7 separate regions of the Homo sapiens genome follow, and all the other regions are linked to region 1. Evidence: promoter capture Hi-C in 16 types of primary human blood cells and fetal thymus (Javierre and others, 2016). All regions are on one chromosome and are shown on one strand. The core of a region is centred on a gene start or on the middle of the fragment in contact, and the rest is flanking DNA. Distances in the headings are between cores, read along the strand shown.

The links. The method cuts DNA at HindIII sites, captures the fragments that hold promoters and counts their contacts. A CHiCAGO score of 5 or more calls a contact.
Region 2: a contact is called between a fragment that was not itself captured here and the fragment with the promoter of GKN1 in region 1, in 4 of 17 cell types (M1 macrophages, M0 macrophages, endothelial precursors and 1 more). The highest score is 8.6, in M1 macrophages.
Region 3: a fragment that was not itself captured here is called in contact with the fragment with the promoter of GKN1 in region 1 in 5 of 17 cell types (activated CD4 T cells, naive CD4 T cells, non-activated CD4 T cells and 2 more); the score reaches 8.1 in activated CD4 T cells.
Region 4: a contact is called between the fragment with the promoter of PROKR1 here and the fragment with the promoter of GKN1 in region 1, in 10 of 17 cell types (non-activated CD4 T cells, activated CD4 T cells, total B cells and 7 more). The highest score is 11.4, in non-activated CD4 T cells.
Region 5: a fragment that was not itself captured here is called in contact with the fragment with the promoter of GKN1 in region 1 in 5 of 17 cell types (M1 macrophages, megakaryocytes, M2 macrophages and 2 more); the score reaches 10.4 in M1 macrophages.
Region 6: a contact is called between a fragment that was not itself captured here and the fragment with the promoter of GKN1 in region 1, in 5 of 17 cell types (fetal thymus, total CD4 T cells, naive CD4 T cells and 2 more). The highest score is 5.9, in fetal thymus.
Region 7: a fragment that was not itself captured here is called in contact with the fragment with the promoter of GKN1 in region 1 in 1 of 17 cell types (M1 macrophages); the score reaches 6.2 in M1 macrophages.

What each region holds. Positions count from the first base shown.
Region 1 is chr2:68,972,998-68,976,380 of GRCh38, forward strand. GKN1 (gastrokine 1) reads left to right here and starts at 1,639. Exons shown (of 6, transcript NM_019617.4): 1 at 1,639-1,692. The coding sequence starts at 1,681. The HindIII fragment of the contact is 2,059 bases long and covers 202-2,260 here.
Region 2 is chr2:69,313,889-69,317,271 of GRCh38, forward strand. No RefSeq gene overlaps it. Among named protein-coding and RNA genes, the nearest start is that of GFPT1, 72 kb to the right of the region's middle. The HindIII fragment of the contact is 2,794 bases long and covers 229-3,022 here.
Region 3 is chr2:68,624,230-68,627,612 of GRCh38, forward strand. It overlaps the pseudogene LOC100379290. Among named protein-coding and RNA genes, the nearest start is that of PROKR1, 18 kb to the right of the region's middle. The HindIII fragment of the contact is 3,535 bases long and covers 120-3,383 here.
Region 4 is chr2:68,641,974-68,645,356 of GRCh38, forward strand. PROKR1 (prokineticin receptor 1) reads left to right here and starts at 1,606. Exons shown (of 3, transcript NM_138964.4): 1 at 1,606-1,875. The HindIII fragment of the contact is 2,701 bases long and covers 1-2,238 here.
Region 5 is chr2:69,294,507-69,297,889 of GRCh38, forward strand. No RefSeq gene overlaps it. Among named protein-coding and RNA genes, the nearest start is that of GFPT1, 91 kb to the right of the region's middle. The HindIII fragment of the contact is 8,338 bases long and covers 1-3,383 here.
Region 6 is chr2:68,689,904-68,693,286 of GRCh38, forward strand. No RefSeq gene overlaps it. Among named protein-coding and RNA genes, the nearest start is that of ARHGAP25, 43 kb to the right of the region's middle. The HindIII fragment of the contact is 3,397 bases long and covers 1-3,350 here.
Region 7 is chr2:69,243,953-69,247,335 of GRCh38, forward strand. It overlaps ANTXR1 (ANTXR cell adhesion molecule 1), which reads left to right. Exons shown (of 18, transcript NM_032208.3): 18 at 1,273-3,383. The coding sequence ends at 1,533. Among named protein-coding and RNA genes, the nearest start is that of GFPT1, 140 kb to the right of the region's middle. The HindIII fragment of the contact is 5,707 bases long and covers 1-3,383 here.

The DNA of each region.
Region 1 (3,383 bases), core at 389-2,888:
CTTCTCAGTGACATGAAGTTTCCTAAAGCAGATGAAGGCCTCTTCACACATGTCTGCCCCTTACTCCAGGCTTATTACCTTCTGTGGATAAAGAGTGAGTTTGAAAGAAATCAGTGGACACATTAAAAAATATCCAGTAATACTGCAGCTGTTCTAATCCACTCCTACCAACAGTTTTGAAGAGATGTTGATAGCGAATCAAGCTTTATAACCATGTGATCCCATCTTATGGTTTCAATCCATGCACAGGAGGAAAATTGTGGGCACGAAGTTTCCAAAGGGAAAATTTATAGATTGGTAGTTAATGAAATACAGTTTTCCTCCTTGGCAAATTTAATTTACTAGCTTCACTGTATAGGAAAAAGCAGGAAAAAAATTAAAACCAACTCACCTCCAAACCTGTTTTGAGCTTTTACTTGTCTGCCCAATTGATAGTTTCTACTCTCTGCTTTTGATGAAAATATTTTTTATTATTTTAATGTAACTTCTGAAAACTAAATTATCTAGAAGCAAATAAAAAGATATTGCTTTTATAGTTCCCAGAAGGAAAAAACAAACACTAGGAAAGTTCTATCTATCAGATGGGGGAGATGTGATGGAGGCAGTGATATTTGAGCTGAGCCTTGAACAATGAACAGGAGTCTACCAAGCGAGAGGCTAGCGGGTGGCCCTCCAAGATAAAACAACAGCATGTACAAAGGCATGGAGACATACACATCTTGACTTTTCCAGGAATGGTGGGAACGCTGGTGGAGCTAGAATGTAGGTACATAGCATAAAGTGGCAGACGGGAAGCCTTTGGAAATCTTATTACATAGGACCCTGGATGCCATTCCAATGACTTTGAATTTTCTGTAGGCTGCCAGCGAAATTTCCAAGCGTGATAGAGTCATGTCTATCTATGCACTTCAGAAAGACAACCTCAGGGTTAATGAAGAAAATGCATTGGAATATAAGAAACTGGTGACCAGAGTGATCAATTGCATGACTGTTGTGAAAGTCCAGGTGAGGGGAGCTGTGGGCAAGGTCAGAGTTGAGAGGCATTTCAGAGATAAAATGACAGTAACTAAGTAGATGTCAGACTGAGAAGAAAGGGCTGTACCAGATATATGGTGCTATCATTAAGTGAGCTCAACATTGCAGAAAAGGGGTAGGTTTGGTGGGAGTTGCTCACAAAACATGTTTAGTCTAAGCAAAACCATTGCCATGGGCTCAGATAAAAGTTAAGAAGTGGAAACCATTCCTACATTCCTATAGGAGCTGCTATCTGGAAGGCCTAGTATACACGTGGCTTTTCAGCTGTGATTTTGTTTGATTTTAGGGATTATTCTTTTTCTGAATCTGAGCAATGTTAGCGTGTAAAATACTCACGCCCACAGCTTTGACTGGGTGAGAAGTTATCATAAATCATATTGAGTTTGTTGTGATACCTTCAGCTTCAACAAGTGATGAGTCAGGTCAACTCCATGTGAAAGTTCCTTGCTAAGCATGCAGATATTCTGAAAGGTTTCCTGGTACACTGGCTCATGGCACAGATAGGAGAAATTGAGGAAGGTAAGTCTTTGACCCCACCTGATAACACCTAGTTTGAGTCAACCTGGTTAAGTACAAATATGAGAAGGCTTCTCATTCAGGTCCATGCTTGCCTACTCCTCTGTCCACTGCTTTCGTGAAGACAAGATGAAGTTCACAGTGAGTAGATTTTTCCTTTTGAATTTACCACCAAATGATTGGAGACTGTCAATATTCTGAGATTTAGGAGGTCTGCTTCTTATGGCCCCATCATGGAAAATTTGTTTTAAAAAAATTCTCTCTTCAAACACATGGACACAGAGAGGGGAACAACACACACTAGGTCCTGTTGGGGGGTGGAGAGTGAGGGGAGGGAACTTAGAGGACAGGTCAATAGGGGCAGCAAACCACCATGGCACACATATACCTATGTAACAAACCTGCACGTTCTGCACATGTATCCCTTTTTTTTAGAAGAAGAAATAATGAAAAAAAATCTTTTTTCTATTTATATAATCATGGCATTTATAAGCATCTCTATAGAGAAGGATAATTGTGCTGAGATTAGACAGCTGTCTGAGCACCTCACACTGACCTATTTTTAACAAAATGACTTTCCGCATCACCTGATTCCGGTCTCCATGCAGGGTAAGCAGTTCCTAAGCCCTAGAAAGTGCCGATCATCCCTCATTCTTGAATTCCTCCTTTTATTTACCAAAATTCCTGAGCATGTTCAGGAAAGATGAAAAGCTTATTATCAAAATAAGTGGCTGAGATAGACTTCTTGTCACATTTGTTACAGTAAAATGGGTCTCCAAGAAAGAAAGATTTGCCTTGGGCTCTAGCATGGCCATTTATTTAAGAAAGCATCTGAAACATGAAGCTACCACAGCATCTCTCCTGTGGTTCCAGACAGAAGCCTGAGAGTCTAGGAGGAGGTGGACCGAGAAACCCTGCCAAAGTAACTAGTAGTGCCGGGTTTCTCACAACACGATGCAAAGGGGCTAGAATCAGATGACTATTTTCATGTTTCAACATACTACACACTGGAAAACGTTACGGCAGACTCTACTTTATAATGGGGCTGCAAATGTAAAATGACTACCTAGAACTAGGTCCTCTTAATAGCAGCAAAGTTTAAAAGGGTCAGAGGGAGCTCCAGACACAGGTTAGATTTGATTTCTCTCCTAGTTCTGCTGTGAACAAGAGGTATAAGTTTGGCCAACTCACTTAACCCCTGAAGCTCAGTTACCTTATCTGTAAAATGATTGCATTGTACTAGGTGTTCTCTAAAATTTCTTCTACCTCTGACTTTTTAGGAGACTAATTTTTAACTCCTTTTTAAGCTATTGGGAGAAAAATTTAATTTTTTTTCAAAAGTTACCTTGAATCTCTAGAGCAGTTCTCAAAACTATTTTGTCCCAGGCAAAGGAAATGAGACTAGGTACCCAGAATGAGGCACCCTGCATAAAGCTCTGTGCTCTGAAAACCAATGTCAGGGACCCTGTGATAAATAATTAAACCAAGTATCCTGGGACACTGCTAGTGACATCGCCTCTGCTGATCACTCTTGCCAGCGAGACACTCTATACTTGCTTTCTCATCATTGGCATCCAAACTGCCTACTAATCCATTGCTTTGGAAAGTTTTTTTTAATAAAAAGATTATTTCTATTAGGAAGAAAACATCCCATGTTAAATAGGAAAATTAACTGAAATCATTTTCAGATGTGATTTTTAGCACTTATAGCCATCTCAAACCATAGTATTCATTTATACTATGCTATTTATTGTAAAACTTCTTTTTTTTTCCAAGGAAAATAAGATAGTTTGCTTTATTTTAAAACAGTAACTTTCTTATATTGGGGCACT
Region 2 (3,383 bases), core at 376-2,875, 340 kb after region 1:
TTTTTGTATTTTTAATGCAGACGGGATTTTGTAATGTTGGCCAGGCTGGTCTCGAACTCCTGACGTCAAGAGATCTATCCACCTCGGCCTCCTAAAGTGCTGGGATTACAGGCATGAGCCACCATGCCCGGCCAAAAAAAAAAAAAAAAAAAGTTAAAATGAATTCCTACATCATATCAAACTTAAAATCCATTTCAGGTGAACTAAAAATCCAAGGATGAAAGGAAAAGCTTTAAGGGTTTTAGAAAACAATACAGGAGGATATGTTTAAGACCTAGGAAGGATTCCTTGAACAAGTTACATAAAAGCACAAATCAGGGAAAATAAGTAATCAATTTGACTACATTAAAGTTAAGAATTTCTATACAATACGAAAAAGAGAATGAAAAGACAGGTCACAAAGGGGAGAACATATTTGCAATACACAACAAAGAACTAGAATTCAGAATATGTAAAAAACCCCTCCAAGTTAAAAAGTAAACAATAAATCATCCAATTTTTAAAAACTGATTTTAAAAAGATTTGATCAGATTCATCACCAAAAAAAGCAGTCAATACACATATGAAAAGATGCTCAAATCATTAATAATCAAGGAAATATAGGCCAGGCACAGTGGCTCACGCCTGTAATCCCAGCACTTTGGGAGGCTGAGGTGGGCGGATCATGAGGTCAGGAGATCGAGACCATCCTTGCTAAAATGGTGAAACCCCGTCTCTACTAAAAATACAAACTATCAGCTGGGCGTGGTGGCGCTCACCTGTAGTCTCAGCTACTCGGGAGGCTGAGGCAAGAGAATCGCTTGAACCCGGGAGGCAGAGGTTGCAGTGAGCCGAGATGGCGCCACTGCACTCCAGCCTGGGTGACAGAGCAAGACTCCATCTCCAAAAAAAGAAAAAAAGGAAATATAAATTAAAACCATAATGAGAGACAAAGATTTATTCACCATTTGGCAAAAGTGTTAAATGCAATACCTGTTGAATTGAAACTTTTATCATTTGATGGTAACAATTTTTGTCTCTAGTAATGCTTTTTTAAACTTTTTTTGGGACAGGGTCTTGCTCTGTTACCCAGGCTGGAGTGCAGTGGTACAATCATAGCTCACTGTAGACTCAAGCTCCTGGCACAAGTGATCCTTCTACCTCAGCCTCCTGAGTAGCTGGGACCACAGATGCACCACCACACCCAGTTAAGGGTTTTGGTTTTTTGTTTGTTTTGTAGACACAGGAACTCACTATGTGGCCCAGGCTGGTATAAACTCCTGAGCTCAAGTGATCCTCCAGCCTCAGCATCCCAAAGTGCTTGGATTACAGGCACGAGCCACTACATCCAGTCTTAAACTGTTTTTATTGTGGTAAAATACATATAACATAAAATTTGCCATTTTAACCATTCTTCAGTGTACAATCCAGTGGCACTAATTACATTCACAATGTTGTGCAATGATCACCACTATCCATCTTCAAAAGTTTTCATCACCCAAAATGGAAACTCTGTATCTATTAAGCAATAACTCCCCATTTTTTCCTCTTTCAAGCCTCTGGTAATCTCTAATTTACTTTCTGTCTCTATGAATTTGCCTATTGTAGATATTTTATATAAATGGAATCATATAATATTTGTTCGTTAATGTCTGGCTTATTTTGCTTATGTTTTCAAGGTTCAGCTATGATTTGGAGTGTATCAGGACTTCATTCCTCTTTATGACTCAGTAGTATTCCATTGTGTGTATATATCACATTTCCTTTATTCATTCGTTGATGGACACTTGGGTTGTTTCCGCCTTTTGGCTGTTATAAGTAATCCTGATATAAACATTGGTGTACAAGTACCTGAGTTTCTGTTTTCAGTTCTATTGGGTATATACCTAGGAGTGGAACTGCTGGTTCGTATGGTAATTCCATGTTTAACTTTTTGAGAAGCTACCAAACTTTTCCATGGAAGACGCACTATTTTCAAATAAGTCATTTTCACTTACAGTCTATCTTGTCATATTCATGTAGCTTGCCATCTTTCCTTGGGTTGGGATTTGCCTGGTGTACCTTTTTCCAGCCTTTCACATTCAACTTTTCTGTGTCCCTGTGTTTTAGATGTCTTCTATACTTGTTGTGATTATTACCAATGTACTTGGATTTCCTAAATTCCATTTTTTTTCTTCTGTTACTTTGGGAACTATATTCTCTAATCTTAGTTTTCATAAAAGTTTAAATATCCATATTTAACTTCACAAAGTCAGAAGTTATCTTTACCCTCTTGCCACATCATAAAAAGAGCCTTATGTTTTAACCCTGCTCATCTACTCCTAAGTTACAATATTATTGTCTAGCATTTTAGTTCATTATGGATTGTTTTATAGCTCCTAAAATATTACTGTTTTAGACCGTTAGTGCTTTAGATTTACCCTCACTTAAAAGTGTTTTGTTTTGTTTCGCTCACCATTCTTTTTTATTTTTTAAAGAGATGGGATCTTGCTATGTTGCTCAGGCTGGAGTGCAGTGGCTATTCACAGGCATGATCATAGTCCACTACAGCCTTGAACTCCTTGGCTTAAGTGATCCTGCTGCCTCAGCCTCCTGAGTAACTGGGACTACAGGTATGTGCCACCACACCCAGCCACCATTCATTATGTTGTATCTTAAGCCTTTGTGGGATCATTTTCCATCACCTTAGCATTTATCTTTGGAAGATTTTAGTGAGAGTCCCAGTTTTTATTCATCAGATAGCACATTTTTCCCATCAGTCTTCAAATTCAGTTTCATGAATTATTTTTTCAGCACTTTGAAATAGTTCCATTGTCCTTGTTTCCACTGGTGCAGTTGGGAAATAAGCTGTCAGTCTAATTATTGACTTTTTGTGGGTAGTCTTATCTCTCTGGCTTTTTAGATCTCTTCATCTTTTGTGTTCAGTTTCAAAACAATGTGTTTAAGAATGCAATTTCCTTTTATCAGCTTAAGATGTGTGAAGCACTCTAAATTCTAGGATTTGCCTTTAATCTGGTCTAGAAAATTCTCTAAAAAGTCAAGAAGCTTTGACTTTTCTCATTTTCTATCACTCTCTATAGTAAATGCTGCATTCTGGATTATTTCTTCAGACCTATCTTTTTGTTCACTAATTCTCTCTTCAGCTGGGCCTAATCTGTTTATCCATTCTAATTTCAATTGTTATATTTCATTTTCAGTCCTTCCTGAAATCTGCCTTGTCCTTCTTTATTGTCTTATTCCTTTGTCATACATTTGATTCCTCTTACTGCTTCTGATACAGTCAGCCCTTTGTACCCATGGGTTCTACATCCATGGACTCAACCAACCATGGATCCAAAATATTTGTTTAAAAAGATATATAAAATTACAACAATAAAAAATACCAATTTTAAAATACAATACAA
Region 3 (3,383 bases), core at 637-3,136, 350 kb before region 1:
TACAGAGTCTCAGGGTCAGCCAAAAGTAAGAGCCTTTTTACGTCTTTCTTGAGTATGTGCACAGCTCTGGGCAAGCATGTAGCTTTCTAGATTCCCAGAAATATGTGGAAGTGTTTTAAAGCTTTTCATTCCCCATTCTTTCTCTTCAAGTTTTGAGGTCAGTCTATTGTTTGCCCAACTATTATTCATTGCCTTTGGCAATAATGATTAAAACTTTTGCCTATAATTGTTTTTGACAAATGCCCCCCTGGTTAGCAGCTTTAGCTTTAACAGTAGGTAAGTATTGAGTCAAGTAAGATAAAGATAAGGCTTTCAAGCAGTCTTCCAGGAAGTCACCAGATAGGTTACATAATGACAAATTTTTTGTGAATACAGTTAATCCACTTCCAGTGGTGCTGGGAATATAGGCTATTATTTCCAAGACTACTGCTGGGCCTGGGAGAAGGGCTTGCACTAGGGTAAATTGAAACCCCACAATGCTTGTTGTTCTTACAGTTTTGTTTTGTTTTTTTTTTTTTCCGAGACGGAGTCTCACTCTGTCACCAGGCTGGAGTGCAGTGGTGCCATCTCAGCTCACTACAACCTCCGCCTCCTGGGTTCAAGCGATTCTCCTGCCTCAGCCTTCTGAGTAGCTGGGACTATGCCACATGCCACCACACCTGGTTAGTTTTTGTATTTTTAGTAGAGACGGGGTTTCACCATGTTAGCCAGGATGGTCTCGATCTCTTGACCTTGTGATCCACCTGCCTTGGCCTCCCAAAGTGCTGGGATTACAGGTGTGAGCCACCACGCCTGGCCCTTACCTAGTTTTTTTTGAATAAGTTCTTATATTACTCAATCTCTGGCTAATTTCCAGAGTTCCAAAAAAGTTAATGTTGAAAGATTTTGACAGTTTATTTTTTGTTGCTTTCATAGGGGGCAAAACTCCTGAGTTTCTTACTCTGCCATTTTTCCTGATGTTCTATTTAATCTTGAATAATCATACTCACACTGGATTTTTGAGGATGTTCTGCAGTATTTCAAACACTTTCATATCCATCTTCTCATTTTATTCTTATAGTAAACTTTGTAGCTGAGAAGTAAACATCCCTTTTATGGAGGAGAAATGTAAGGTGTCCTGCAGGCAGTTACTCTGTCTTCTGTGTGCCCCAGCTTCTCTATCATATCATCCCATTAATTTAGATTAATTTTTTATAGCTAGACAATAAACTCCAAACAGAATAGATAATGTTATTGTCTCCTTGAGACCAAGCACATAGCATAGCTTTTATTCTAGAACAGAGTACATGTTTTGGAATTTAAAAATGAATAAAAAATAAAGTTTAATGTTTAAGACCTCTTTCCTGATGAAATAATTTGTGTCCTGCAGTGTTAGACCTGAAAGTGTCCTCAGGGGCTACATGGGGAGGAAATAGATTGCACAGGACTTAGCTTCCTATCTCAATGTTTCAACAGAACCATTCCCCCTTTAGTCATCTCTCTCCTAATGTTCATTTGACAAATATTAATGGAGCTCCTACTATGAGTCTGGCCTGATAAAAGAAGTTACAAAGAGAAATTAGGAAAGCAGAGACCTTGTCATGGAATTTACATTGATGAGAGAGAAAATAAAAATGAAAAAACATATAATTTCAAGTGGAAATAAATGATAAAAAAATAAAGCAGAACAAGGTAGGAAGGCACTGGGGAACACAAAATGATTTTAGATAGGGTTATCAGAGGTGTCCTCTCTGAGGTGATATTTAAGCAAAGATATGAATGAAATGAAGGTCAGGTCATCTGAAGATATGGGGGAAATGTTCCAAGCAGGGGAAGCAGCAGGTGGCAAGACCCTGAGTTGGGAGTGAGTTAGCATGATTCAGGAATGACAAGACCACAGTGGCAGAGGTGGGATGAACAAGGGCAGAGTGCCATAGGAGAGAGTGGTAGAGATCAACATGGTGGGGCCATGCCGTATTTTGCAAGTCAGTGCTGCTACGTTAGATTTGTCTTGAACAAATAGTATTTTGGCTAAAGTAAAAGTTTGAAAAGCACAAATTTTATGTTAAAATTTATTATTATATATTTACTTGCTCCTTCCTTCCCTTTCTCCTTGTCTCCCTCCCTCTCACCTTTCCTTCCTTCCTCCCTCCCTTCCTCCCTCCTTCCCTCCCTCCCTTCCTTCCTTCTTTCCTTCCTTCCTTCTTTCCTTCCTTCCCTCCCTCCCTCCCTCCCTTCTGTTCTTTTCTTTCTTTTTATTTATCTTCCCTACCAACAGAGTCTAGATCATGTCTTCTTTACCTGTGATTAACACAGGACCTGGCACATAGAGGGTAATCAAATGATATTTTTCTGAATGAGTGAGAAAATTGAGACCCAGAGAGGCCAAGTAGCATTTTTAAGGCCACCCAGATAGTGACAGAACAAAATCCAGATTTGTGTTTAGCTCATCTTCTGTCACTTTACCACATCAGTTGCATGGAATTAAAAACAGATCCAAAGATTTTATAATTAGTGTATGTGGTTTGTTTTCTGTTACTGACTCCAAGTATAATCTAGTCACACAATCACACGGCTAAGACATTAGTGAAAGACGATTATTGTTTCATTGGGTTAAGGAGAAAGGTTTCCTGGTGACAGTTAGCATCAAAGATATACTGTGTTATAAAGAACCACAGGGTGTGATTGAGGTAGGATGGAGGAGGGACTGCTCTATTGGTACAGTGTCCTGTATCAGGGAGGGATAGTTTGGTTGCAGTCTTTCCTTAATTAGAGGAGGAGAGATAAGGGGAAAATATCATCAAGAAAATGAAAAGTTTTCAAAGTAGAAAATGCCACATTTTCTACTTTGCAGATGCAAAGGCCAGGAAGCAGACAGAGTCAGAAAACAAATTGTCTAGAATGACCCATAGTGCTCTGGAGTACTTTAATGTGATTGGCCAAGGCTTGAAGCATCTCTTCTGGCAGCAGCCCAAGAAGTCATCCATGTCTCCATGTGATGTGCAGAAAATTCAGGCAGATCCAGAACCTGAAATAGATCTGGAAAGCCAGAACACATGTGCTGAGACTGAGAGTAGCCCCACCTCCCACCCCACAGCTCTGAATCAGTTCCTGCAACAAATCCAAGTACCATTCAAGATGAAGACAAGACAAATTTTTATGGCAGGCAGGGCAAGCCAGAGGCCTCAAAGGAAAGTCTCAAAATCAGTAGGGTATACGGCCAGGATATGGCAGCTATCAAGCAGTCAAGCCAACCTAGGTTTTCTTCATCTGTGACTAATGCTCCTACCAGCTCAGCTGTGGTGGAAATAGCTTGTGCTGCTGCTACATGTCAATCAGGAGAGGAGGCAACTGCAGAATAGATGGAGCATTTGGAAGTAAGCACTCTTGCTCAGATCTCTAGT
Region 4 (3,383 bases), core at 356-2,855, 330 kb before region 1:
CGTGATGGAGCTTATGCTGAGAGCTAAAGTTTATGTATTTTTATCTTTTAATTCCATTTTCCCACAAACTTTTGGAAGTTCCCATGTGAGTGTATGTGTGTATGTGGAGCATTTTGTTTGTCCCTTCATCATTGATGGACATTTGGATTGTTTCCATGTTTTCGCTATGGTGAATAATGCTGCTATGAACATGGATGTACAAACATGCCTTTGAGACCCTGTGTATTAGTTCACTTGCACACTGCTGATAAAGACATACCGGAAACTGGGAACAAAAGGAGGTTTAATTGGACTTACAGTTCCACATGACTGGGGAGGCCTCAGAATCAAGGCAGGAGGTGAAAGGCATTCCTTACGTGGTAGCATCAAGAGGAAACTGAGGGAGAAGCAAAAGTGGAAACCCCTGATAAACCCACAGGATCTCGTCAGGCTTATTCACTATCACGAGAATAGCATGGGAAAAACAGGCTCCCATGATTCAATTACCTTCCCCTGGGTCCCTCCCACAATACGTGGGAATTCTGGGAGATACAATTCAAGTTGAGATTTGGGTGGGGACACAGCCAAACCGTATCACCCTGCTTTTAATTTTTTGGGTTAGACACCCGGAAGTGGAAACACTCGATCATATGGTAATTGTATTTTTTAACTTTTTGAGGAAACCCTATACTGTTTTCTACAGTGGCTTCACCATTTTACTTTCCTACCGACAGTGCACAGGGTTCCAGTTTCTCCACATTCTCACCAACACTTGTTATCATTTCTTTTTACAGCTGGATAATATTCTATTGCATGTATATACTATATGTATTTTGTTAATCCACTTAGCTGATGGACATTTGGGTTGTTTCTGTCTTTTGGCTACTGTGAATAGTGCTGCCATGAACATCAGTGTATGTGTGTCCCTGCTTTCAATAGTTTGGGGTTACATACCTTGGAGTGGGATTGCGGGACTATATGCCTCACGTTTTGAGGAATCTATGGGCTTGTAAAGGTAGACTGTGCTCTGTAAGTCAGCGCTGTCCGTCCCAGCCTTCTAAGCAGACATCCCTGGGCGGGGGTCCTTCCTCTCTCCAGTGTGCTACCCCGCCCCCTTGTTTGCTCTCCAGAAAGCACTTCTCTGAGCCTCTTTTACGGAGAGGTAGGGCAGCTGGCAACAAAGATGGCCCTGGTGTCCGTTCAGGCTGGCCCAGGGGACCAGGTTGGGGCCGGCCCCTGAGTGTCCCCTGAGGAGGTGTGTGAGCAGCGGGGGAGGCTCCTCGGTCCTTTGCAAGCTCGCGGCTGAGCGGGGCCGTGTCCGTCCACTCCGACGGCGCTGGGCTGCCAAGGTGAGCCGCCGAGGAGCCCCGTGCCCCGAGGCGGGCACAGCCGCCCTGCATGGGTGCCCCCGGCGCGGGATTGACGCAGAGCCCTGCCCGGAGCCCCAGCGACCCCGTTCCTGCCCCAGGCGGCCGTTCCGAAGCCTGAGCCGGGCAACGCGCAGCCCGCCTGGCCCGGCTCCCTCCCGCGCGTCCTCGTCGCGAGCTGCCGCCTGGGAGCTCCAGACGCTCCCGCCCAGGGCGATCCGGACGCTCCCGCCCAGGGCGATCCCGGCCTCTGCAGCCCAGCTGGCGACACGCCTCGCCAAGAGCCCGCACCTCGGCGCCTCACGGCCACCGGAGGCGGGGACAGGGAGTCCGGCGCGGGCCGGGTCGGGGGATCTGCAGCGGCGGCGCGAAGGTAACTCCCCCGCCAGAGCCGGGAAAGAGCCCCGAGCAGAGGAGGAAGGGAGCGGGGACCTGCCCTTCGCCTGCCGGCTTCTGGAAGAAGCGTCTCCTGATCCGGCCCCGGAATAAGAAACCCGGACCTTGCCTGCCGGGCTCCGCGATGCCGCAGGTACAGAGCGCGCCCTCCCGGGGAGGATGCTCCAGGGACCCCGCGCTGCACTGGCTGCGGCCGTGGGGTGCGGCGGCTTCTGAGTGAAGAGGGGACTTTGCCAGGGATTCACTCCTGTGAGTTTCTTCAGGAGAGCCAGGCTTCCCCTCCTCTGTCCTTAGGGGAAGCTGCCCAGGCTCCAGGGAGAAAGTTGGGAGCAGGCGGGGGACTTGCCAGCAGGGGTTTGTGAGAGAGGCTTCTAGCGATCGAGAGGTCACCAGGTGGGGGTAGGATTGGGGTTCCCCTCTGAACGGTGAGAATAAAGGAGAAAAGACCTCTGGACAATCATCCTTAATCTCGTGACGCCCTCCTCTCCACCCCCGAAGCTTCTGTATTCTTTGCTTTTAAACACTACTTTGACCCTTCAGGTAGCATGCTTGTAGGGGTACCCCTCCAGGAGTGGCATGCCTCTGCGACCCACGGGACCTGCAAGGAGTGGGGCTTGTCCCGCCTGGGTTCCAAGCCTGCCCCCCTCCTTCTTTTCAGCTGAGTTCTGCCTCTCCTCCCTGAGTGGGCAGAGGGCAAGGGCTGAGCCAGACAGAATTGAGAGCTCGGAGGAAGGAAAAAATCAGGGTAAGGAGTTAGGACAGAGAGGCAGCAATGGGGCTGAGCCTCACTGGGGCGCAGAGGGACTTTAAACTTGGCCCCAAGAAGACAGGCTCCAGATGTTTTGCCTCGGAGGAATATGGAGAGCAGGCTTTCCTGGGGGTGGGGAGGTGGGGTCCTGGGCATCTTCCTCATCTTCCTTTCCCAGGAAAACTCTGGCTTGCATTCTTCCCTCTGTTCTCCTGACATTTGTTTTAGGGTGCTCTCCAGACCTCAGCCCTCCTTCTACGTCCCACTCCCTGGTCTGATGTCTTCAGGGTTTGGGAGGGACTGCAGGGAGAGAGCAGGGGACAGGGGGACTCTGGCTGCCTCCCTGTCCCCACCAGGGCAGCTGACACCCCCCTAGACCCCTCACCCCAGCCCCATTATGTGGTGTGGTGGAGTCCCTGTATCAGGATTTCGCTCCCCTTCCTTGCAGCTGACAGAGGAGGCCTGAGAGCGCAGTAGTAACTCCTTGCAGTTCTAGGGTGTAACACTCTCCTCCAGGGAGCTCCAGGCTGTGCAGACATTATTGATCTCCTGCCTGGCAGAAGTTGAACCTCTGAGTGTTTAAGCTATTTACCCCTGGACACTCAACCAGCCAAGGAAAAATTTTGCTCTAGCGTCCCCATTCTCATCACTTGGTTAGTCACAGGCTGTGACTTTACCCTACAGCCTCTGTCTGGGGACAGGCCTTCATAAATGCTGTTCCCAGCTTCTAGGGTCATAGCAGGTTCTAATGTGGGAACAGGAAGTCCAGCAAATAGTGAGGAAGGTGGCTGCTCTATGGCTCTGTGATTTTAGAGCCATGTTCTGCCAGAAGAGCAAGGAGAGCAGACAGGCTTGTCTGAAAGCCCTCCCTCTTAAATAGCATTTAAAGAAAT
Region 5 (3,383 bases), core at 473-2,972, 320 kb after region 1:
ATCAAATTGGGAATATTTTGAGAATTGCTCTTGGACACAGAGCTCTCAATTGCAAAAGTGGATGTCCTGGTTCCAATTCCTTCTCTTACAACATCTAGCATTGTCGACCATGTCCTCTCTATTGGTCATTGCCAAACAGAACACAGATGGCACACACAAGCTGGTTGCTTTGCCCAAACAAGCCCATACCTCCAAAAACAGTCCCCTCACTAACAAGGAATGGTGCAGTATACCAGGGCCAGTAACAGAGAAAAGCTACCAGCACCAGAGAGAGTGAGCTATGTTGAGAAGAACCCCCACCCCAACAAGCTGGGGCCTGCATTGGAGAGTAAGGGTCAGGGAAACACACACCCCAATCTACTCATCTCCTTCCAGCACCCTCCTGCAGGGCTCCCCATTGGCTTGAACCCAACCACAGTCCAGAAGGTGAGAGAGCCATTGCTGACAGTCCTAAAGGTACTCCTCCTGGCACAGTGAGAAGAGCTGGGGGTGGCGGACCTCGAGGCAAACAGGAGGAAGCAGCACGCCCCACTCTTCCCACTGACTCTTCTCGCTTAGTTTTTGTCATACTGACTCTTCTGGAAAAATCGGAGTGCCTCAAATGCAACACATCCAAAATAAAACTCATCTCCTCCCATCAGACTCTCGCCCACATTCCCACTCTCCACTAACGGCAGGCACCTGTGACTTCTTCACGTCATTGACAGCCTTGCAGTAGAGACGTCTCCTGGGAGCTTGTTAGAAATGGGGACTCTCAGGCCCTACCCAGACCTACTGGATCAGAATCTGCATTCTAATACCACACCCAGGGGGCTTGTGCACATGTTAAAATCCAGAAGTGCTAGTTTACAGTACATTTCACAACCACTCCTCCTTTCCTTTTCACATTGTGTTAGCACATGCCAAAGTTAGAGGCTTAATATTAAAACAGAAAGAAGTGCTGGGCGCAGTGGCTCACGCCTGTAATCCCAACACTTTGGTACGCAGAGGCGGGCGGATCACCTGAGGTCAGGGGTTTGAGACTAGCCTGACCAACATGAAGAAACCCCATCTCTACTAAAAATACAAAATTAGCCGGGCGTGGTGGTGCATGCCTGTTAATCCCAGCTACTCGGGAGGCTGAGGCAGGAGAATTGCTTGAAACCAGCAGGCAGAGGTTGTGGTGAGCCGAGATCACACCATTGCACTCCAGCCTGGGCAACAAGAGCAAAACTCCATCTCAAAAAAAAGAAAGAAAGAAAGAATTACATGAATCGGGGCCTTGTGGAATCCTCCATAACCCCAATTTATTGCTTTGGACTTTGTCACAGGATGCTGCTTTAAGGATGCTGTGCTTGTAGACTTGACTTTGTGCCTTCTTATTGTTTTATGAAATCTATACCTATCCCCTCATTCCTTCTTTCCTTTATCCTTGGAGGATCATGAAAGGCACCTAGATTGCCCTTTTTGTGTAAAAAAGTAAAAGACTATGTTGAATATTCAAAATGAGAAGCCCATCATTTGAAAATGTTTCAGATGACATTTGCCATGTAGAAACACATCACCCTGTTCAATCGTGTCAGGATTTGTATCTGTCCAAGTGTCAGTTTCCTCATCTACAAAATGGGGAGATGATAGTAACTCCTTTATAAGTGTAAGGATTAAATGTGGCAAAATATGTAAAATATGCCCTCCAAATGGACAATGCTCAAATATTCATTGAATAAAAAAAGGAAGGTATTTAACATATCTGAGGTCAGGTGCGGTGGCTCACGCCTGTAATCCCAGCACTTTAGGAGGCCAAGGCAAGTGGATCACCTGAGGTCAGGCATTCAAGACCAGCCTGGCCAACATGGTGAAACCCTGTCTCTACTAAAAATACAAAAATTAGCCAGGAGGTGGAGGTTACAATGAGCAGAGGCTGTGCCACTGCACTCTAGCCTGAGCAACAGAGTAAGACTCCATCTCAAAAAAATAAAATATCTGAGCTTCAGTTTATGTAATGTAAATGTAAAATGAAGACTACAATACCAAGTTCAGTAAATGTTCATTCTTATACTCTCCCACAACCCACACACACGCTCACACACATGCACACACCTACACTCATGTGTGGACACACACACATGCATGCACACAGGCACACACATGAGCACAAACACACACATACACATGCATGCACACAATCAAAACCACATGCACATGCACTACACACAAAACAGCAGGAACTCTAGCTGCTTTCCCCTGGTGTCTCCTGCCGGGCTGCCTGCCCTCTGGAATTACTCTCCTGGATGGCCGCAGAGCCTCCACCCAGCACAGCCACCACTCTCCTGGTACCCCCCCAACCCTCTTTCCACACCAGCCACAGTGATCTTTCTAAAATACAACCCTGACTGTTTCATGCCTGCTTGAAACTCTCACACTGCAGCCAGGCCAAACCCATTCTGCACCCCCATACACATTACATCTCCGGCCTGGTACCCCCTCCTCTGAGCACCCACAGCAGGGGACACAAACCTCCGATGTCACCCTGTCTTTCTCCCTTTAGACTGCAAGGGTTGCTCCAGGGCAGGGACCTGCCACATCTGATTTTGTGGTGTCAGCGTCCACTACCCCGAAGGCCAGAGCACCGCCAGGGCTCCAGAAACGCTGTTGCTAAATGCTGGTTGCAGCAGAGCATGAGAGGTGCTGCCCTCGCACCCACCCAACCAAGGCAGCCCCAGGATCCCCAGCGCGCACAAGATACACGAGTTCCACCAGAAGGACCTCATCGCCTCCTGTTCCCAATGGCAAACCGAGCACCCAGACATTTTAGGCCTTGTCCTGGGAGTGTGGAACTGCGGCGCCAAGCACAGAACACATGGTGTGGTCCTCTCCAGATGCCGGCTCCTCTGTCTGCAGCAGCCCTTGAATGCCCCACCCAGAACTCCCTTGTTCAGCGCTCCGGCCGTGCCTGTGTCAGGAGGCTCCTGAGCAATGCCCAACCCCTCCCTGCTGATCCCACACACATTTTCCTTCTCCTTCCTTCAAAGCAAAAAAACAAATGCCCTTTCCAAAAGGCAGTAATGTAGCGTGAGGGTGGGGGTTGCTGGCCTAGAAATAAAGATCTAGACTCCCTTTCCCCAGACTGAGCACGGCCCCACAGGCAGCACCTCCTGGGCACCCCACAGAGGGTAGGTCTGACCGAGATGCCCTGTAGATGCCAGCATCACAGTGCCCCGTGAGTGAATGGGCAAAGAGGGTGAAATGAGCAGAGGTGGACGTGAGTCAAAGCAGGCTCTGTCATCACAGCTGCCTGAAGGAAGAGGCCACAGCCTCTCCTCTCCATCTGCCTTCTCTATAACAGGTCCCATCAATGCAAATGCTGTAACACCAACATCAAATTTACATTTACCTAGAGAAAG
Region 6 (3,383 bases), core at 402-2,901, 280 kb before region 1:
TTTCCTGCTCCCAATCATTGCCTCTCATGCAGGATTAGGCCAAGCAGGTGGGAAGAGAACTGAATACTAGAGGGTCTTAGAGAAAATGAAGTTTAGCCAGTCATTCATAGAAGAGGAACTGAAACTTATTTCACAGAGAGGTTAAGCAACCTTCATTCTCCCTTTAGTGAAAGAGGCAAATATTCTTTAGAAACCCATGTGACAGCTTCGTTCTCTTGCAGCTGATTTTGAATCTTGCAGTTAATCATGATCTCTGGGCCATGGGCCTTATTGTCTTGAGGCTCTCATTTTACTGATTGATAAAGCAGAAAAACAGAGAAGTGGTGTGATGTGGCGAGAAAGTGCTAGCAGGAAATGAGATAGCTATTACCACCCAGGGCTCTCCTGTTTCTCTCTGCAAGACTCCTTTGGAAATCTTGCATTGCCTTCCCCTTTCTGAGTAATTCCGCGGGGCTTCATTTAGATTGTGCTCATTTGCATTAACTCTCATAACGAAGAGGTGTATTACCAACTGAAATGGAAAAAGGCCTGTGGTTACTTTGTGTCTTCTCTGCTGTCTCTGGTCTCTGGGACCAGAACTCATCCTCAGTACCGAGAGCCAAAGAGGAGCTGACCATGGATTAGATGAAATAAGGTACTGTGTACCTGACACCCAGGAAATAGTCAGTGTTTCTTACCTCCTAGTATTGTTGCAAAATGAAGCAGAATACAGTATATCTTTTGATTCAAAGGTGTCATTAGGCCTTATAACTATTAACCAATTAACAGGTTAATATTTTAGCTTGCACTTTTGCTTTAAAATCTGAATATTGCATGTTAATTTAAAATATGGTTTGTTAGGAGTGTGGTAGGAATATAACTTGTTTGAAATTGACATCAATGTCTAAAATGAAAAACCATGCATCCCAAAACATGGTGATTACCAGCGGAAGGTCAGGAAAACATGCTTCTCTTCTGCAGATGGAGGTACAATGAGGTGTTTGACAGGGGCTTATGTTCCCAACACACCTGGCCTGGACTCTGCATGGAGAAAAAGGTTTGTTCACTAGACTGAGATTTCGAAGGGTAGAGTATTTGTAGAGAGAAGCCAGGTCTCCAGTGTTGCTGGGTTTGGGGAAAGCCTGTAATGGATTCAGGTGTCCAGGTGAGAACAGCTTTCTGACAAATGTGCTGCTGAGGGTGATGTTCTCTCAGCACGTGGCCTGTGAGCTCTCAGTGATGCTCCAGCCAGCAGGAGTACACCAATAAGCCTGACTCTCTGCCAATAGCTGGGGCCAGAGGTCTCGTCCTCATTTTTCACTGGTACCTGGCAGGCAAAATTCCTATCCAGGAGGGAATGGTAGCTCTGGACAGTTGTATAAATATGCTATCAAAATTTGAGAGGCAGAAAGCAAATGACAGGAGGCCAGACCCTCCTTGGAGTCATCAGTCCACTCAAAGTCCCTAGACCCCTTGCTCAATAATTTCACTTTAGTCCACATAATTCCAAGAGGACTAACTAAGGTTTTCATTACAGTGGTCTCTTCTGGCAGTAAGGGTCTGCTCAAATAGCTCTAGTGGACAGAGGCCACAGACATCTGTTAGTGCCAACCTCAGAAAATCCCACTATAAGTTTCTGTTATATTTTTATTTTTTCAATGAAGCTCTTTACCTAGACACAAAGGTGATGGAGAAGTGTTTCCTCCCTATCAAAAAATACTTTGAATTTTTCAAAGAAATTTCATTTTCCTTGAACAATACAGACAAAATCAAATAATGCATAAGCACTCATAATCTCTGACCCTCCCTTTGCCCATAAAGAACATTCTGGAAATTCTAGCATTGTTAACTTGGTACTTCCCTTACACTATCCTATCCTTCCTACCTTCCTTCTCTCTCCTCTATTCTACTCTCCTTGGTGGTCATTTTTATTATTATGAGGTCTAGTTTATTGGACAAGAGGAGAAGTGTTAGCTAGAGAATTTATACTGGAAATGAAAGAAAAATTACAATAAATCTAGGAATGAGATGGAGTCCAGAAGAACCCAGTAGGATAGATTTCAGGGAGTATTAACTTAGGAGTTGAGAATGCAAAAGAGAATAGTCTCAAGTCACTTCCATCTACATGGAAGATATTGAGAAGGGATAAACTAGAAGAGAGGACAAGACATTTGACTATGGGTTGAGTAGGTGAATCCTTAAGAAATGGAATATGGCCGGGCATGGTGGCTCATGCCTGTAATCCTAGCACTTTGGGAGGCTGAGATGGGTGGATCATGAGGTCAAGAGATCGAGACCATCCTGGCTAACATGGTGAAACCCCGTCTCTACTAAAAATACAAAAGATTAGCTGGGTATGGTGGTGGGTGCCTGTAGTCCCAGCTACTCGGGAGGCTGAGGAAGAAGAATGGTGTGAACCTGGGAGGCGGAGCTTGCAGTGAGCTGAGATTGCACCACTGCACTCCAGCCTGGGCAACAGTGCAAGACTCCGTCTCAAAAAAAAAAAAAAAAGAGAGATGGAATGTAGTTGAATTATCTTAAATTGTTTTTAATGACTATTAAGTTGTCTGTTTTTCTTTAAGTCAGGAGGCATTATTTAGAGTTTATGCCACAGAGCAGAGGCAATTATAATATTCATGTTCTTCAAAAATAAAAACAGTGAAGCTATCTTTGCACCTATGCCAAAATCCTGCACTAAGAGAGAAGGTGCACTTCTTCCAATAAACAGATGTGTGACCAGTGCCAGTGTGGGCTGACTTCATCTCATCCTTCCAAATCTCTCATCTTAGGGAGCTGGGTGAATTGACTATTGTAGCTGCTCCTTCCTCCTGCAGTAACACTTCCCTTTTTGCTGCTGACAGTGCTTCAGAGGTACAGTCCTTTTCCAAGAACCACCGCCATGCCATTGCCACTGGTACCTCTCCTCACTCAACTCCTCTCCTGGTGGTGCTTTGAAGATGGCTGGAACTCTAGTCTTTACTCAGCTACTAAAGTTGGCTGTCTTCCAGCAGCCTTCCCAACTCCTGCTGAAAGAAGGAAAAAGGTAGAAAGGAACATGTGAGATGGTAGAGAGACGTGCACTGTTCAATGTAACTCCACATCTTCAGCAAATCCTGTTAAACTAAAAAAAAATGATGCTGACTTCTAAGTCCAGGTGAATGCACGACAGAGACAACACATGCAGATTCAGGAGCCATTGGCGGGGAATACCAGGAGAATAACTCCTGGAAATGCACAAAAATCATAAGGAGGGCTTTGGATTTCAAGGCTTTGGAATTGGAAGTTTTGCATCAAGTTTACATGTATCTCCAGGACAGCTGATATTGGATACTCATTTAAAAGAAGACTTTTCAGTACCCAGTTGGAAATAAAGCTTTAGAATCCAAGTATCCCTGAGGGAGATG
Region 7 (3,383 bases), core at 457-2,956, 270 kb after region 1:
CCAGGAGCCCTCAGAGGGGTGGGTACCCACCCAGGCAAGTGGCCAAGCGAAGAGAGCTCACGCCAGCATGGAACATGGTGAGCAGGAGAACCCCTGTCTCCCCTCCGTTGCAGAGCTGAGTGTTGCACAGAAGTTCCTGAGTACCAGATGAGACTAGTGGGTATCTACTGGGGGACAGAGAAAGCATGCCTGTGACTCTGGAGAGCAGAGCAGATACTATAGGGGAGACAGGGCTACTTAAGGCTGGCTTTGGACGCTGACTTTCAGGAGGCTGCTTTAAGGGGTTCCAGGGTCTTCTCTGCATTGTTCAGTTGAGTACCCAAGAAGGGTAGGAGAAAAGCAGAATTCAGGGCAGATGCCTGCTTGGCAATAGAATGTCCCCAGGTTGTATTTCTTAAGGTACACAGGTTGTCAGTTCCTGTGACAACAACTAAGGCTACCTGCACAGGTGCAGCCGCGTGTAGAAGAGGGATTCCCACAGCCAGAACAAGGGCAGGACAAACTGTTTATTATTTACTAGCACTTTGGAGAAGGCAAGGCGTGGATGAGGAAGCTGTATTGATCACATCAGTAGAGATAGCTGCCTCCTTCATTCATTACCGGGAACAAGTGTTTGAGGGGGCACAGACGAGGTAAATGCATCAGGGCCTCCATGACAACTCCAATCACAGAATCTAGCTACATCCTTGAATTACAATATAGGAGAAGCTCGTGGTGTTAACCTTCTGCCATTTCCAGGCATGTAACTGAACTAATCAAAATAAATTACTTTTGTTTATGAAATATGAGGATCCCTTCCAGAAGGCAAAGTAGCAGCAGGAAGAATAATTCTGGAGTCTATTTTGGGTTAGAATCACCAACCCCATCTCTTCCTAGTTGTGTGGCCTTGAAAAAGTAACTCCGCTTTTCTGAACCTCTGCTTCCTCATCTGTGCAGTGGAACAGCTAATAATACCCGGTTAGCAGGGCTGTTGAGGAGATTCAGTTTAATGACCTCTGTACACAGCACCCAGTTAAGGTCAGTCTCATTCCCTTTCTCCCACTTGAGAGAGTTAGACTCCAGGAAAAGATGAATTTTAACAGTTTTGCAACACAGTCCAGGAAAAGGAAGTGGGGAGCTCACTTGTCCTCAAGTTCTACTATGTGCCACTAGAGAGTTGTCACCAACAGGGGCCAGCTTTCCACATATTGCTTGCAAGCCGCCCACCACAGCACCACAGGCCCTGATGTGAGGCCGTCCGCTCACGTTTCCTTCTCTCCAATTCTTTTCTAGGGGCGCTGCATCAACTTCACCAGGGTCAAGAACAACCAGCCAGCCAAGTACCCACTCAACAACGCCTACCACACCTCCTCGCCGCCTCCTGCCCCCATCTACACTCCCCCACCTCCTGCGCCCCACTGCCCTCCCCCGCCCCCCAGCGCCCCTACCCCTCCCATCCCGTCCCCACCTTCCACCCTTCCCCCTCCTCCCCAGGCTCCACCTCCCAACAGGGCACCTCCTCCCTCCCGCCCTCCTCCAAGGCCTTCTGTCTAGAGCCCAAAGTTCCTGCTCTGGGCTCTCTCAGAAACTTCAGGAGATGTTAGAACAAGTCTTTCCAGTTAGAGAAGAGGAGTGGTGATAAAGCCCACTGACCTTCACACATTCTAAAAATTGGTTGGCAATGCCAGTATACCAACAATCATGATCAGCTGAAAGAAACAGATATTTTAAATTGCCAGAAAACAAATGATGAGGCAACTACAGTCAGATTTATAGCCAGCCATCTATCACCTCTAGAAGGTTCCAGAGACAGTGAAACTGCAAGATGCTCTCAACAGGATTATGTCTCATGGAGACCAGTAAGAAAATCATTTATCTGAAGGTGAAATGCAGAGTTGGATAAGAAATACATTGCTGGGTTTCTAAAATGCTGCCTTCCTGCCTCTACTCCACCTCCATCCCTGGACTTTGGACCCTTGGCCTAGGAGCCTAAGGACCTTCACCCCTGTGCACCACCCAAGAAAGAGGAAAACTTTGCCTACAACTTTGGAAATGCTGGGGTCCCTGGTGTGGTAAGAAACTCAACATCAGACGGGTATGCAGAAGGATGTTCTTCTGGGATTTGCAGGTACATAAAAAATGTATGGCATCTTTTCCTTGCAAATTCTTCCAGTTTCCAAGTGAGAAGGGGAGCAGGTGTTTACTGATGGAAAAGGTATGTTGCTATGTTGATGTGTAAGTGAAATCAGTTGTGTGCAATAGACAGGGGCGTATTCATGGGAGCATCAGCCAGTTTCTAAAACCCACAGGCCATCAGCAGCTAGAGGTGGCTGGCTTTGGCCAGACATGGACCCTAAATCAACAGACAATGGCATTGTCGAAGAGCAACCTGTTAATGAATCATGTTAAAAATCAAGGTTTGGCTTCAGTTTAAATCACTTGAGGTATGAAGTTTATCCTGTTTTCCAGAGATAAACATAAGTTGATCTTCCCAAAATACCATCATTAGGACCTATCACACAATATCACTAGTTTTTTTTGTTTGTTTGTTTTTTGTTTTTTTTCTTGGTAAAGCCATGCACCACAGACTTCTGGGCAGAGCTGAGAGACAATGGTCCTGACATAATAAGGATCTTTGATTAACCCCCATAAGGCATGTGTGTGTATACAAATATACTTCTCTTTGGCTTTTCGACATAGAACCTCAGCTGTTAACCAAGGGGAAATACATCAGATCTGCAACACAGAAATGCTCTGCCTGAAATTTCCACCATGCCTAGGACTCACCCCATTTATCCAGGTCTTTCTGGATCTGTTTAATCAATAAGCCCTATAATCACTTGCTAAACACTGGGCTTCATCACCCAGGGATAAAAACAGAGATCATTGTCTTGGACCTCCTGCATCAGCCTATTCAAAATTATCTCTCTCTCTAGCTTTCCACAAATCCTAAAATTCCTGTCCCAAGCCACCCAAATTCTCAGATCTTTTCTGGAACAAGGCAGAATATAAAATAAATATACATTTAGTGGCTTGGGCTATGGTCTCCAAAGATCCTTCAAAAATACATCAAGCCAGCTTCATTCACTCACTTTACTTAGAACAGAGATATAAGGGCCTGGGATGCATTTATTTTATCAATACCAATTTTTGTGGCCATGGCAGACATTGCTAATCAATCACAGCACTATTTCCTATTAAGCCCACTGATTTCTTCACAATCCTTCTCAAATTACAATTCCAAAGAGCCGCCACTCAACAGTCAGATGAACCCAACAGTCAGATGAGAGAAATGAACCCTACTTGCTATCTCTATCTTAGAAAGCAAAAACAAACAGGAGTTTCCAGGGAGAATGGGAAAGCCAGGGGGCATAAAAGGTACAGTCAGGGGAAAATAGATCTAG